2 separate regions of the Homo sapiens genome follow, and region 2 is linked to region 1. Evidence: promoter capture Hi-C in 16 types of primary human blood cells and fetal thymus (Javierre and others, 2016). All regions are on one chromosome and are shown on one strand. The core of a region is centred on a gene start or on the middle of the fragment in contact, and the rest is flanking DNA. Distances in the headings are between cores, read along the strand shown. Region 1 holds the start of ANLN (anillin, actin binding protein). Region 2 holds the start of SEPTIN7-DT (SEPTIN7 divergent transcript).

Region 1 (6,329 bases), core at 3,448-5,947:
CATTTTTAGCAGGTATAATGAAGATATACCATGCTCATAAATGGGTAGCATTGCTGTCACAAAGATGCGAATTCTCTCCAAATTATGTGATAAATTCAGTGCAATTTGAATTAAAAATCAGAAGAGGATTTTCTTTTCTTTTCTTTTTGGATCTTGAGAATCTGACCCTAAAATTCATGTGGAAGAACAATGAGGCAAAATAATCCAAGTTGAATTGGAATTTGCCCTACCAGATATCAACATTTATAACTAATATAGTGTGATATTGGGAGAGGAATAGATAGACCAGTAGAACAGAATAGAGTCCGACATAGACCTATGTGTACATAAAAAGTTGAGGCTGAACATAGTGGCTTACACCTGTAATTCCAGCACTTTGGAAGGCCAAGGTGGGAGGATCATTTGAGGCCAGGAGTTGGAGACCAGCCTGGGCAACAAAGTGAGATCCTGTCTCTACAAAAAATTTTAAAAAGTAGCGGGTTGTGGTGGCATGCACCTGTTGTCCCAGATACTTGGAAGGCTGAGATGGGAAGATTGCTTGAGGCCAGGAATTTGAAGCTGCAGTGAGCTGTGATCGTGCCACTGCACTCCAGCCTGGGTGACAGAGCAAGACCCTATTTCAAAAAATAAAATAAAATAAAATAAAATAAAATAAAATAAAATAAAATAAAATAAAATAAAATAAAATAAGATAAAGAAAGAACTGTTGGGTAGGCGCAGTGGCTCATGCCTATAATCCCAGCACTTTGGGAGGTCTAGTTGGGTGGATCACTTGTGGCCAGGAATTCGAGACTAGCCTGGCCAACATGGGGAAACCCCAACTCTACTAAAAACACAAAAATTAGCCAGATTTGGTGGCATATGCCTGTTGTCCCAGCTACTTGGGAGGCTGAGGCAGGAGAATCGCTTGAACCCGGGAGGCAGAGGTTGTAGTCAGCCGAGATCAGGCCACTGCACTCCAGCCTTGGCGAAAGAGCGAGACCCTGTCTCGGGAAAAAAAAAAAGAAAAGTTGATATATGATAAAAGTGGCATTACAGGTCAATGAGAGAAAGGATGGACAATTTAATAACTGCTGCTAAGACAACTGGTTATCCATACAAAAAACAAGATCAATCCAGATAGTTTAAAGACAAAAGCATGAAAAGCCATACTTTAAAATATTTAGAAGAAAGTACAGCAGAACATCTTTATTATCTCAGGGTATGGAAGGATTTCTTAAGGCATAAAAAACACAAATCCTAAAGGAAAATATATATGGTATATGTGTATGTGTATGTGTGTATGTGTGTGTGTGTGTGTGTGTGTGTATCATTAGTTATATTAAACATTTCTGTACATCTGAAACATCATAAAGTAAAAAGACAAGCCACAAACCAAAAAATTGGCAAGCCGAAAAACCAACCAAGTTTATTTTCCCAGAAAATAGTAAACAACCAACAAAAACCCTATAAATCCATAAGAAAAAGGCAAATAATTGCACAGAAAAATGGGCAAGGATATAAAGTTGAAAATCACAGAAAAAGAAAATTGAAAGTCCAATAAATAAAAAATCATGTTCACCTTCACTAGTGATAAGAGAAAGGCACTCAAACAAGAATGGCAAAATTTAAAATGTATCCACATATTGGGGAGGAACTAGAGCAGCAGCCAGGGGCATATACTACTGACTGGAGTATCATTTGTTATGACCATTTTGAAGAGCAGTTTATTTTTAATATCTGGTAATAATATTCCTAGGTATATTGCTCTAGAGAAAGTTTTGCATGTGCATATAAAGGATAGTCATGGCATCATGGGGTCTTTGGAATGAAAAACTGGAAATAAGCTAAATGTCCATTAACAGGATAATGGGTACATAAATTACAAGTATATTTGTATAATAAAATTTAGCAGTGAACATGAATGAAATGCAGCTACAGTTATTAGTGAGGATAAATCCCATAAAGATATTATTGGGCCAGAAAAAGTTGCAGAAAGACTTACATTCTGCAAATAAAATTTATATATAAAACACTAGATATTGTTATGGATATATATGTAGATGTGATAAAAGTATACATATTTCTATGGGAATGATAAACATCAAATCAAGATAGTTTTACCCTGGAAGAGTGGGAAGATGAATGAGAATAGGAAGGGACACACAGGAGACTTCAATTACATGTGGGATGTTTTGTATTTTTTTAAGCTAGGTGGCTGGTATATGGTTATGTTTTATTATTCACATTTTTATTGTATTTCATAACATAATTTTTTTGTTTTCAAATTTTTTTATTTGTTATATAACACAATTTTTAAAAAGATAAAAGTCATTCTAGCCTAGAAACTGAAGAATGAACTACCGGGGGTTAAGAATGAAAGGAGGTATAGTAGGAGACAATTGTAATACCCTAGGAGAGTAGACTTGAATATCTACCGTAGTTTCTGGCACATAGTAGGTGTTTCAGTCTTAGGAGTTATTTAATTGTGATGGTTGCCATTATCACTATCATCATCATTATCAAGGTAGAAACCAAAGACATAGTGGGATGGTGAGGGAAGATACACTAAATGTTGTGAGTAGCTATCTTATGCTAGGTGCTTTACCTCTTTTAGTCTTAACTAGAATCTAGTTGAGGTAGATACAAAGAAACTAAGGCTCATAGAAGTGATAGCCAGAAGGCACAACGGCTACATAAATTTCTAATGACTCATTTTCCAACGTTGTTTAAAACACGCATACACACACAGACACGCCCCAAATACATACACACCTTTCTTGTCACACTTGAAAAAAATGGAAGTATCTTTTTCCTTTGTTCATAAGTAACACATTCTGGGTTAAATATTAATAATTCCATATACTACACACTCGGACAGTGTCTTATTACTTATTATGAAATATTTTTGGATTATGTCTCTCCATTTTTCATCTGCCCCTCCTAACAACTCTGAGGAAATCAGGGCAGATGATTATTCCTGTTACACAGATAAGTAAACTAAAATACAAACAGGCTAAATCAGAAGTTCTTGTCCTGGTGTCCATGAACTTCACAAAATCCTGTTAAATAGTTTATGATTAAATGGTCATTTTTCTAGGTAGAGGGTCAGTTTTAACATATTTCCAAAGGAGTCCATGACTCCCCACAAAGGTTAAAAAAAAAAAAAACCCATGGGTTAACCGATTTGGCTAACTGGGTGGAGCCCTGACCCCAAGCAATATTTCCCTTACCTCTTGCCGTGATTTCAGTCACGTACAATTTATCATACAAAAATTCAAATTAAAAATATTAGTAAATTCTTTTTGTAATGTTGATTGACTGCTAAGATGGACATATTATTAAACATATTGAAACCACTCAGTTGGGAGGAATAGTTCTGTTTTGTTCAGCTCATGGACAGTCACTCTTAACTTTTCAGATGAACAAATCAAGAACTGTCATCTTTACCTGCACAGACTTGTTATAGAAGAAATGAATCTGATACAGAAATTATGTAACCTATCTTACAATTTGGAGTACTCTACAAAGAATAAGCAGGAGACACAGCCTTAGCTAGTGTGGAAAACGGGTCATGAGCTGAGAACAGGGTTTTCATTTCTTTGGACCAGTTTCTTTAACGTTTTCGGGTGTCCCTTCTCTCGGCAGTAAAAGGAAGGATTGAACTAGATAGAGGGCTTGTCAGAATTCCTCCCGCTCTAACACTGTACACAGTTGGATGGAATTTAAAATAAAAAATTGTGCATGAACGCTTCACACAGTCTGTTAATTTTAGCTTTATTTCATTGGCTTAGAGTGTCGGGGACCCACCGGAACTGGCTTTTCTGAGGGCCAGGCCTGCAGTCCCCCTTTTGGGGACTAGGAGTTGGGTGTGACCTAGGAAACAAAGCTACTGAAGGCCAACGGGCTAGCAGCACCTGAAACACAAGGGCTCTTTGTCTGGCTCTGTAGCCCAGGCTGGAATGCAGTGGTGTGATCTCTGCTCACTGCAACCTCCACCTCCCGGGTCCCAGTTCAAGCAATTCTCCTGCCTCAGCCTCCCGAGTAGCTGGGATTAGAGGCACGCGCCACCATGCCTATCTAATTTTTTTGTATTTTTAGTAGAGACGGGGTTTCACCATGTTGGCAAGGCTGGTCTTGAACTCCTGACCTCGTGATCTGCCCGCCTCGGCCTCCCACAGTGCTGGGATTATGTCCTGCCAACACAAGGGCTCTTAATCCTTTTTTTTTCTTTTTTGAGGCAGGGTCTCACTCTGCCGCCCAGGCTGGAGTGCAGTAGTGAGATCGCAGCTCACTGCAGCCATGACCTCCTGGGCTCAAGCGATCCTCCAGCCTCAGCCTCCCCAAATGCTGGGATTATAAGCATGCGCCACTACTCCCGGCCTTAATACTTTATTTAGGAATGAAGGAAGGCGGGAACACCCAAACGCGGTTGGTGTGAAGCAATCGCCTTAAAGCTGAGGGGAATGTGTGGTTGTTGGGGGTGGAGCCAGGAACCCGACGCCGTTGGAGAGCAGGAAGCGCCCCGCTGCCCGCCTCCACCCCGCGGCGAGGGCTGGGAGGGGGCCGGGAAGGAGGCGGGGCCGCCCCTGGGAACCACCCGGCCCGGCGCGGCCACGTGACCGAGCGCAGGGGCGGGGAGAGGGCGCCCCGGCTCCGCCCAGCGCGCATGCTCGCGGCTCGGCGCTGAAATTCAAATTTGAACGGCTGCAGAGGCCGAGTCCGTCACTGGAAGCCGAGAGGAGAGGACAGCTGGTTGTGGGAGAGTTCCCCCGCCTCAGACTCCTGGTTTTTTCCAGGAGACACACTGAGCTGAGACTCACTTTTCTCTTCCTGAATTTGAACCACCGTTTCCATCGTCTCGTAGTCCGACGCCTGGGGCGATGGATCCGTTTACGGAGGTGAGTGAGTTTGCGGGTGCAGCCAGCCATGACCCACCGCTCTAGGCCCCCACCCACCTTCCTCTGTCAACCTCTGGGCGAACCCCCACCGGGCGGAGGGCGCGTGTGTGCGCGCGTGCGCAGTGTGTGCGGGCCGGGGTCGCCGCGGCTGCGGCCTGCTGTGGTTGGTGGGTTCCTCTGAGATTTTGTTGTTTCGGTCCTACAGATAAAACTCAGGGAGGAAGGCTTTGAGTCTGTCCTAAAAGGCTGTTGCGAGAGGTCTTTCAGCCCCCGTTTTTACCATGTCCCTCTGCAGTCCTGGCGCAGCAAGAGTGAGGCGCAGGCCTGCGGAACGGGTCCTGCTGGAAGCAGCTGGAATGCCCTGCAGGGCGGGGTCCGGGGCCGGTGACTCAGTGCGGCTGCCGCCGGGAAAGGCAGTAGGATGTGTGATTTGCGGAGTTCACGCAGCCCGCAGGGGAGATGCTAATGAAATGACAGCAAAACGTTAAAATAAGCAGGTGCTAGAAACCACTGCATTCGTTCATAAAAAGCCAGTAGTTCCTTGAGATCCCATTGTTCAGCTAACTAACGAAGAAGTTCATACCCGGGACTGACCATTTTAATTGAAACAATGCAAGTGTACCGAGCAAAACTATCAGCTCACGATTTTAGAGCAAAGAAATAAACTTTTCGGTGTTTCTGGGGCATATCATTACAGTACTTATTTCATCTTTTGTTCCTTTGAGATTGCATATGGGTTACATGGTTATTGTGTCGATTTCTCTAGTTTTAGCTTTTGTGGAGAATGTGCGTTGTCACATTCAGGAGTGTTTTGTTGCCAGTTGTCCACTCTCTTTTATTCCAGGACAGTTCCTCTTTCTTTAGGCTGTTGTGCAAATTTCAAACTGTTAGTTTTTGAGTGTTGCAAAGTGGACCTAAAACTGTTTACACTGATTCAAAAACTTAAATGCTGTGAAGAGTGGTAATTCTTTCGGGGAGATGTAATTATAATTCTATAAGTTATGTATGAGATATTAATTACAGATTTCAGCAATTAGAGTTTACTTATATTCAAGCATGACATAATCTATTTTTCTGTTTCAAATTCTTAATCATCTTGGGACAAATACATCAATTTTTTTCACCTTCCTTAAAGGTTCTAATAGAAAAATCTAGAGCCTATTTTTGTATTAGCCTTAAAATAGGGCTGGTCATGCACCAAGTATCTTTCACTTACACTGAGGTCGAAAAGCGTGTATTTATTTTATCTAAACTAGAATACGATTCCTTAAAACATTAGCCCTATGTGTCTTCCTAAGTAACAGACAGGAACAAAGCATTTTTAAGTTGGCTGAAAATTGCACTTCATTTTACTTAAAAATGTCATTCTGAAGGTAGTACAAATCTCAACTGAAAGAAACTTTACCTGTTTAGATCGTTTTAGGATGTGCTCAGAAATATGTATGGTTT
Region 2 (6,149 bases), core at 1,671-4,170, 590 kb before region 1:
TCACCAGGGCTGGCAGTGGCACGATCTTGGCTCACTGCAACCTCTGCCTCCTGGGTTCAAGCAATTATCTTGCCTCAGCCTCCCTAGTAGCTGGGATTACAGGCACCCGCCAAGACATCCGGCTAATTTTTGTATTTTTAGTAGAAACAGGGTTTCACCATGTTGGCCAGACTGGTCTCGAACTCCTGACCTCAGGTGATGTGCCTGCCTCGGCCTTCCAAAGTTCTGGGTTTACAGGCATGAGCCATCACGCTCAGCCTGAGTTCCTCTTTGATGGTTTCTATTTTTTTCTATTCTCTTATTTGAGAATAAGTGAGGGGAGTGGTTTGAAAAATAAGGAGAAAATCAGAAGTGGCTGTTGTGGAAATTAAGAGAGAGCCAACTAGGGAAACAAGCATTGCTTGGTAAAGTTGAAGGCCCACGTGAGTTTGGACGCTGTAAATATGTGGTGGAAACCATCTATATGGTCTGTCCAGAATTTCAGATCAGTTTTTTTAAATCTGTTTCTGAGTCAGTAAAGTCTAGGCTATATTTTATTAACAAATAAATGCAATAAAGAGATCATAAATATTGCAAATAAGTGCAATAAAGAGATCATAAGATCAATACAATTCTCTTTCCTCGTGCACCACGTATAATTTGCATAACACATGTATATACATTATAGAACATTGGCTATGAAACCTCCCTACAAAGAAAGTTCCTCAGAATATCATTATTTCATTGCCTGTAACACTCCGTATAATTTTTTCTTTTTTTTTTTTGAGACGGAATTTCGCTCTTGTTGCCCAGGCTGGAGTGCAGTGGTGCTATCTGGGCTCACTGTAACCTCCGCCTCCTGGGTTCAAGTGATTCTCCTGCCTCAGTCTCCCGAGTAGCAGGAATTACAGGTACCGCCACCACACCCGGCTAATTTTTTGTATTTTTAGTAGATGCGGGGTTTCACCATGTTAGCCAGGCTGGTCTCGAACTCCTGACCTCAGGCGATCTGCCTGCCTCGGCCTCCCAAAGTGCTGGGATTACAGGCGTGAGCCACCGCGCCCGGCCACTCTGTGTGATTTTCAATGAAAAGTAGTGAAGCTATCATAGTGTGGGGTGAACATGAACAAACTTCAGACAAGGAATTTAATATAGTTTCTATTAAGAATTTATCCATTTTCATAGCACAAAATAACACAATTCACCTCTTTCATACCCATTAAGAGATCTTCCTCAAAGAAATATTATCAATAGAGATGGGAGGCAAAGATTTACTTCCTTTAGACTATTAGGTTATATTAATATAAGTATTTGCTTTAATTTTATATTTTAAAATAATCTATATTTAGGTAATATTTACTAAGCATTGACTAAGCACCGTGTTCATGTATTAGTCTATTTAACTCTTATCAAAATCCTGTTAGATAAGTATTATCTCCGTTTATAGATGAGGAAACTGGATCACAGGAAAGTTTAAGTAACTTGTTCTTGGTTGCAAGCCTAATAAATGGAGAGCTGGGATTTGAACTCAGGCAGTCTGACTCCGGAGGCTATATACATTTACCCTCCTTGGTACACTGCTTTTTTTCAAAAATAGAAATTCAACAAAATTTCCCAAAGTAAAAGTTCATTTGAAGTTTCAGAAACTTAAAACAATGATTGAACAGATAAGTTGCAACAGACTTCATAAGCAGTTCAGTAAAAATGTAGACTTACGAAATGGCATATATCAAGATACAAAATAAGTTGCTTCTATAAGTTTCTTTTCTTAAAAAAAATTACTTGGAAATATTTCAAGTATATAGAACAGTAAAGGAAATAATTACAAGTGAACACCCATGTGCCCTCTACTTAGCTTAATGTTTTGCCACATTTTCAAGATATTTCTGGTAGAAAACAAACGTTATAGATACAAATGAACCCTTCTTGTTACATTCCCTTCTGTTCATCTCTGGAAGCAACCAGTATTCTGAATTTGGTATCTATCATTTCCTTATACAATTTTTAGTTTGATCTTACTTTTTTGTAATTATTAAACTTTTATTTATGGTATGTCATATATATCTTTCCGCAACCTGTCTTTTCATTTCTTCCTCAATATTAGGTTAATGACTCTATCCATATGAAAAATGGTAGCTTTAGTTCACTGATTTTTTGGTTCGTGTTGTATGTCAATTTGTTCAACAATGACACTTATTCATCCATTCTCCTATTAGTAGACATTTATTGTTTCACTAATATAAGCTATTTTGCTCTGAACTTTCTTGCACGTGCCTATAACTTAAAAATACACATACTTTTTTAAAACATGCAGTTAAACAGGAACATACACATTTCTTTAACATGTAGTTAAACAGGAAAAGTAACACATGTGCATGAAGAATACAACCAAGAGAGCCATCACGTTCAAGAAAAGACCACAGGTTATTCCGAGTGAAGTAAGGCTTTCACTAGAAGGCACTTGGGGAACGTTCCAATGACAGCGACATTCATCGCTACAGTAGAAACTCACACAATCGCAGCCCTTTATTAGTATTTTGTTACCCAGTAGTTCCTGTGTCCATTCATTTCCTCAACTGGAGTGTGAGCTCCAAGAGGACCGAACCGGGCACCGACAAGGTGAGCCAATATGAATGTGGCGAGTCCGCAATGGGGGCTACAGCGGCCGACCTCTGGGGCTGTGCCAGGCCACTAGAGTGTGATGGCGCGAGGGAAGGGTCGGGGAAACAGGGCCTAACCTCACTTTTCACCCCGAAAGTCAAGATAGCCACGGAAACAGGGATGAATGGGGAGCACAGACACCTGCCTCGAAGTGTCTCTTCACTTTCACTCACAAAGCCGTCGGGTCAGTAACCAGAAGCCGAGGGGCGGATGCGGCCCCCGCCCTGTGGCACTTTCTCAGTCTGGTTCTTCCAGCCGCGCCTCTTTGCCTTACGCCAATTCCGTAAGGAGGCGCTGAGGCCAACTGGCCGGCTCCCGCAGCTCCAAAACTTGACGTGAAATTGCGCGGGGCAGAGCTGACTGCGGCCATCTTTAATTCGGGCAAGACCCCACCCTCGCACCCCACCCACTAGTCCTTTTCAGCGTTCCCAGGATTTTCTCCAACAAATGTAACGCGGTTAACCTTAGAAGCAGTGTTGAAGAAACACGCAAAGAGGCCTGAGTATCCATGACCTCAGTGGTGCGAAACCCGGCCAACTTAAACATGGCGGCTAAACCCGAACAGCAAAACGTTGCTGACGCCAATGAAGTCATGCTCGAAATGGAGCGAGGCGGCGGAGCTGGGGAGGCGGTAATCTCGCGAGATGGAAGCCAGCCTCCGCTAGGCCCGGAAGCCTCGTCTGAGGGGGCGGGGGACGGAGGAGGGAGCGGGAGTCGAGCGAGAGCCTGTGGAGGAGTCCGCCTGCTGTAGCGTGCGTAAGCAAGGCAGCTACGCCGGGCGGCTACGCTGCGGAATCGGCGTAGGCGCCTTTGGAGAATCGGCGGGCTGCGCTCCGCTGGGGCTGGTCGCGGAGGGGGGGAGGGGATGTCGGTCAGTGCGAGATCCGCTGCTGCTGAGGAGAGGAGCGTCAACAGCAGCACCATGGGTGAGTCTCAGCTTCGGGTGCCGCGACTTGGGGTCAGCGGCTCCGAATGCCGGGAAGCTCTGCGGCCGCTGGACCGAGCTAGGGAACGCCCTGAGGCGAGGCGGAGGCAGCGGCGAGGGGAGCCGGGATGGGGGCCACTGCGGGCCCGGGGCGCGGCAGCGGCGGGCTCGGGGGGAGGGGAGGCGGCGGCGGTGACAGTTTGAATTGAACGTGAGGAGAGCCGAGGCGGCGGCATTTCCTGTGCCGCGGCGGGCTGGCCCCCGGCGCAGAGCCGCGGCCTCCGCGGCCGGAGCAGCCTGAGCGTGGTGGTCTCAGCCCTGCCCTTGCTTCTCTCCGTCCCTTCGCCTTTCCTCAGTCTCCTCCCGGGCCCGCCGGCTTCCGCGGCCCCGCTTCCTCCTGTCCCCGGCCGCATCCCCGTCGGCAGAAGTCCCCTCGTGGGGCAGTGGGCCTGGCTAGGAGGGTGGGGACGAGTGTGAACGCTCGGGCGAGGGTGCTGTGTGGGCCAACCCGGGCGGGCGGCGGCGGGGAGGGAGGAAGAAGGATGCACCAGGCTGAGGCTGTGGTGGAGGCGGCGGCGGCGGCTGCAGCCGCAGCTCCAGTCACCGCGTCGCCTCCCCGCTCCTCCTCCCGCCTCTCGGGGTTGCCTCTCTCCAGGCGCAGCCCGGAAGGCCGGTGGATGGCGGGCGAGTCTTGAGAACGGAGGGAGAATCGGTAGTTTGGTTTGGAATTTGGGCTTAATTTTTAGGAGTAAGGGAAAGAGAACGCCTGGGAAGGGCGCCCCCCGGAGGAGATAGAAAGGGTGGGAAGGGTCCTTGGAAAAGGGAGGGAGCGGAGATGTGGAGTGGCGAAGTTTAGGGAAATTAATTTTTGAAAATATTTCAATATTCTCAGTTATTCTCTTAACGAGCCCTTTCATTTCCTTTCCTCCCCCACATGTTGGAAAAAGAACAGGCCATTTCATTTACATTTTCCACTCCTGAGTTCCATTTCAGCTGTGTGTATAGTAAGAAATAAGCAACCGAGATTTTTCTAGGACATTTCCATTTGCTGAGTTACTTTTGAAGAGTACACTGTTTCAAATTTGGGTTTTTACAGTCCTAGGAAAGAATTTGTGACGTCCAGGTGTTTTCTTAGTTACTGAAATAATAACTTACTACATTTCTTGAGTTTATTGCTAAATAGTTCAGCTTTAAGAATTCTTTCTTCTGGCTTTTTTATTTTGATGAAAGGAAAAAATATCTTTGTTAGTGCCCCTGAGAATGTAAATGAACAGATCATCTAAATTACTAAGCATCTAACCTGTTTTACATATTTATGCACATGCAGGTGATGAGTATAGTCAGTTTTTCCCCCTAAAGTTTATGTGCAGACATGGGGAGGAGAGTATTTTAGACTTAAAAGTGTACAGGTAGGGATGAAATTTATGGAATCCTGATAGACTGAAGGGGGGATATAAACAATGACCAAGTCAGCTATTGCTGCTTGGATTCTTTATTTCTTCAGACTGCAAGGGAATGAGTAAGGGGTGGTTGGGTGGTGATGGGGGGGTGGTACGGTCGTGGCGGGAGAGCAGTAAACAATCTTTCATCTCATTCAGCTGTTCAGTGGGTGGGACTAAAGGAGATAAGAGTTGAGTGAAGCTATGAAATAAATGTGGAAGCTACATAGGTGATTTGCATGGTAGCATTGTCTTATTCTATGATGGGACAACATGATGGAACCAGGTCTTCATAACACAGTTATTAAAAATACATATTTTACCACATCTTAGGCTTACAGAATTCAAATTCACAACAAATAACAGAAATGTTAAGTTGATTTTAATTAGTTCTTATCCTTTAAAAAGAAAGGATATTGTCTTTTTCTAATGTAGCTTAACAATTTTTGTTGCAGGCTTTGGTTTGGAGATATTTGATGCATACATAATACATGAAAGGTAGTGTTAAAAGATTGTATTTCAGAAGTTTGTGATAAAATTGGTTGTTCAGATTTGCACATTGTCCCGTAGAAGTCATTTTAAGTAAATCCATGCCAGAACTTCTGAACAAGTCTGAGGCAAGTTAGGAATCCTTACAGAACCTAGGAGAATTTAGAGGAATATGCTAGGACAACAACAACAACAAAGCTTGGGGGAGAAGAGGGAGGAAGAAGAGTTACATCTATGGCTTCTAAGGTCTCAGTAATGGAGAGTGATCAGATGAGGGACCAGTCAGAATAAGGATAGTGGTAGAGCAGATTAGTTTCAGACTTTGTATAATTTGATGATATACATATTCATTGTAGACTGTATTCTGGGAATTGCCGATAGAGAATTCCTACCTGACTAAATTGCCTGCTGAGAAATGTGTTTCACATTTTGAATTAATAAGCTATCTTCAATTTTTGATTATAAGTTGAACATTTTAAACTAATGATTTATGTCTTTTACTAAGTTTTGAGACAAAACTTTTTGTATACTTCTTTTTTTGTACTAAGTTTGGACTGTAAAGATAAACTTTATTATACAATAGAAACTGAAGAAAAATTATGTTTTTAAGGAGCAGAATTGTAAGGTAGTTTGATTATGGGTTTAGTTCGCTATAT

What was found. Contacts are between HindIII fragments. The CHiCAGO score rates a contact against its expected background, and 5 or more counts as called.
Region 2: a contact is called between the fragment with the promoter of SEPTIN7-DT here and the fragment with the promoter of ANLN in region 1, in 1 of 17 cell types (fetal thymus). The highest score is 9.1, in fetal thymus.

Annotation. Positions count from the first base shown.
Region 1 is chr7:36,385,165-36,391,493 of GRCh38, forward strand. It overlaps ANLN (anillin, actin binding protein), which reads left to right and starts at 4,698. Exons shown (of 24, transcript NM_018685.5): 1 at 4,698-4,880. The coding sequence starts at 4,863. It also overlaps a transcript of MATCAP2 not described here. RefSeq lists enhancers at 4,343-4,933, 4,934-5,524 and a silencer at 4,343-4,752. The HindIII fragment of the contact is 7,726 bases long and covers 1-6,329 here.
Region 2 is chr7:35,797,705-35,803,853 of GRCh38, forward strand. SEPTIN7-DT (SEPTIN7 divergent transcript) reads right to left here and starts at 2,921. Exons shown (of 5, transcript NR_120512.1): 1 at 2,786-2,921. It overlaps SEPTIN7 (septin 7), which reads left to right and starts at 3,353. Exons shown (of 14, transcript NM_001788.6): 1 at 3,353-3,566. The coding sequence starts at 3,506. RefSeq lists enhancers at 2,585-2,644, 2,767-3,390, 3,005-3,394 and silencers at 3,545-3,784, 3,815-4,264. The HindIII fragment of the contact is 5,766 bases long and covers 1-5,689 here.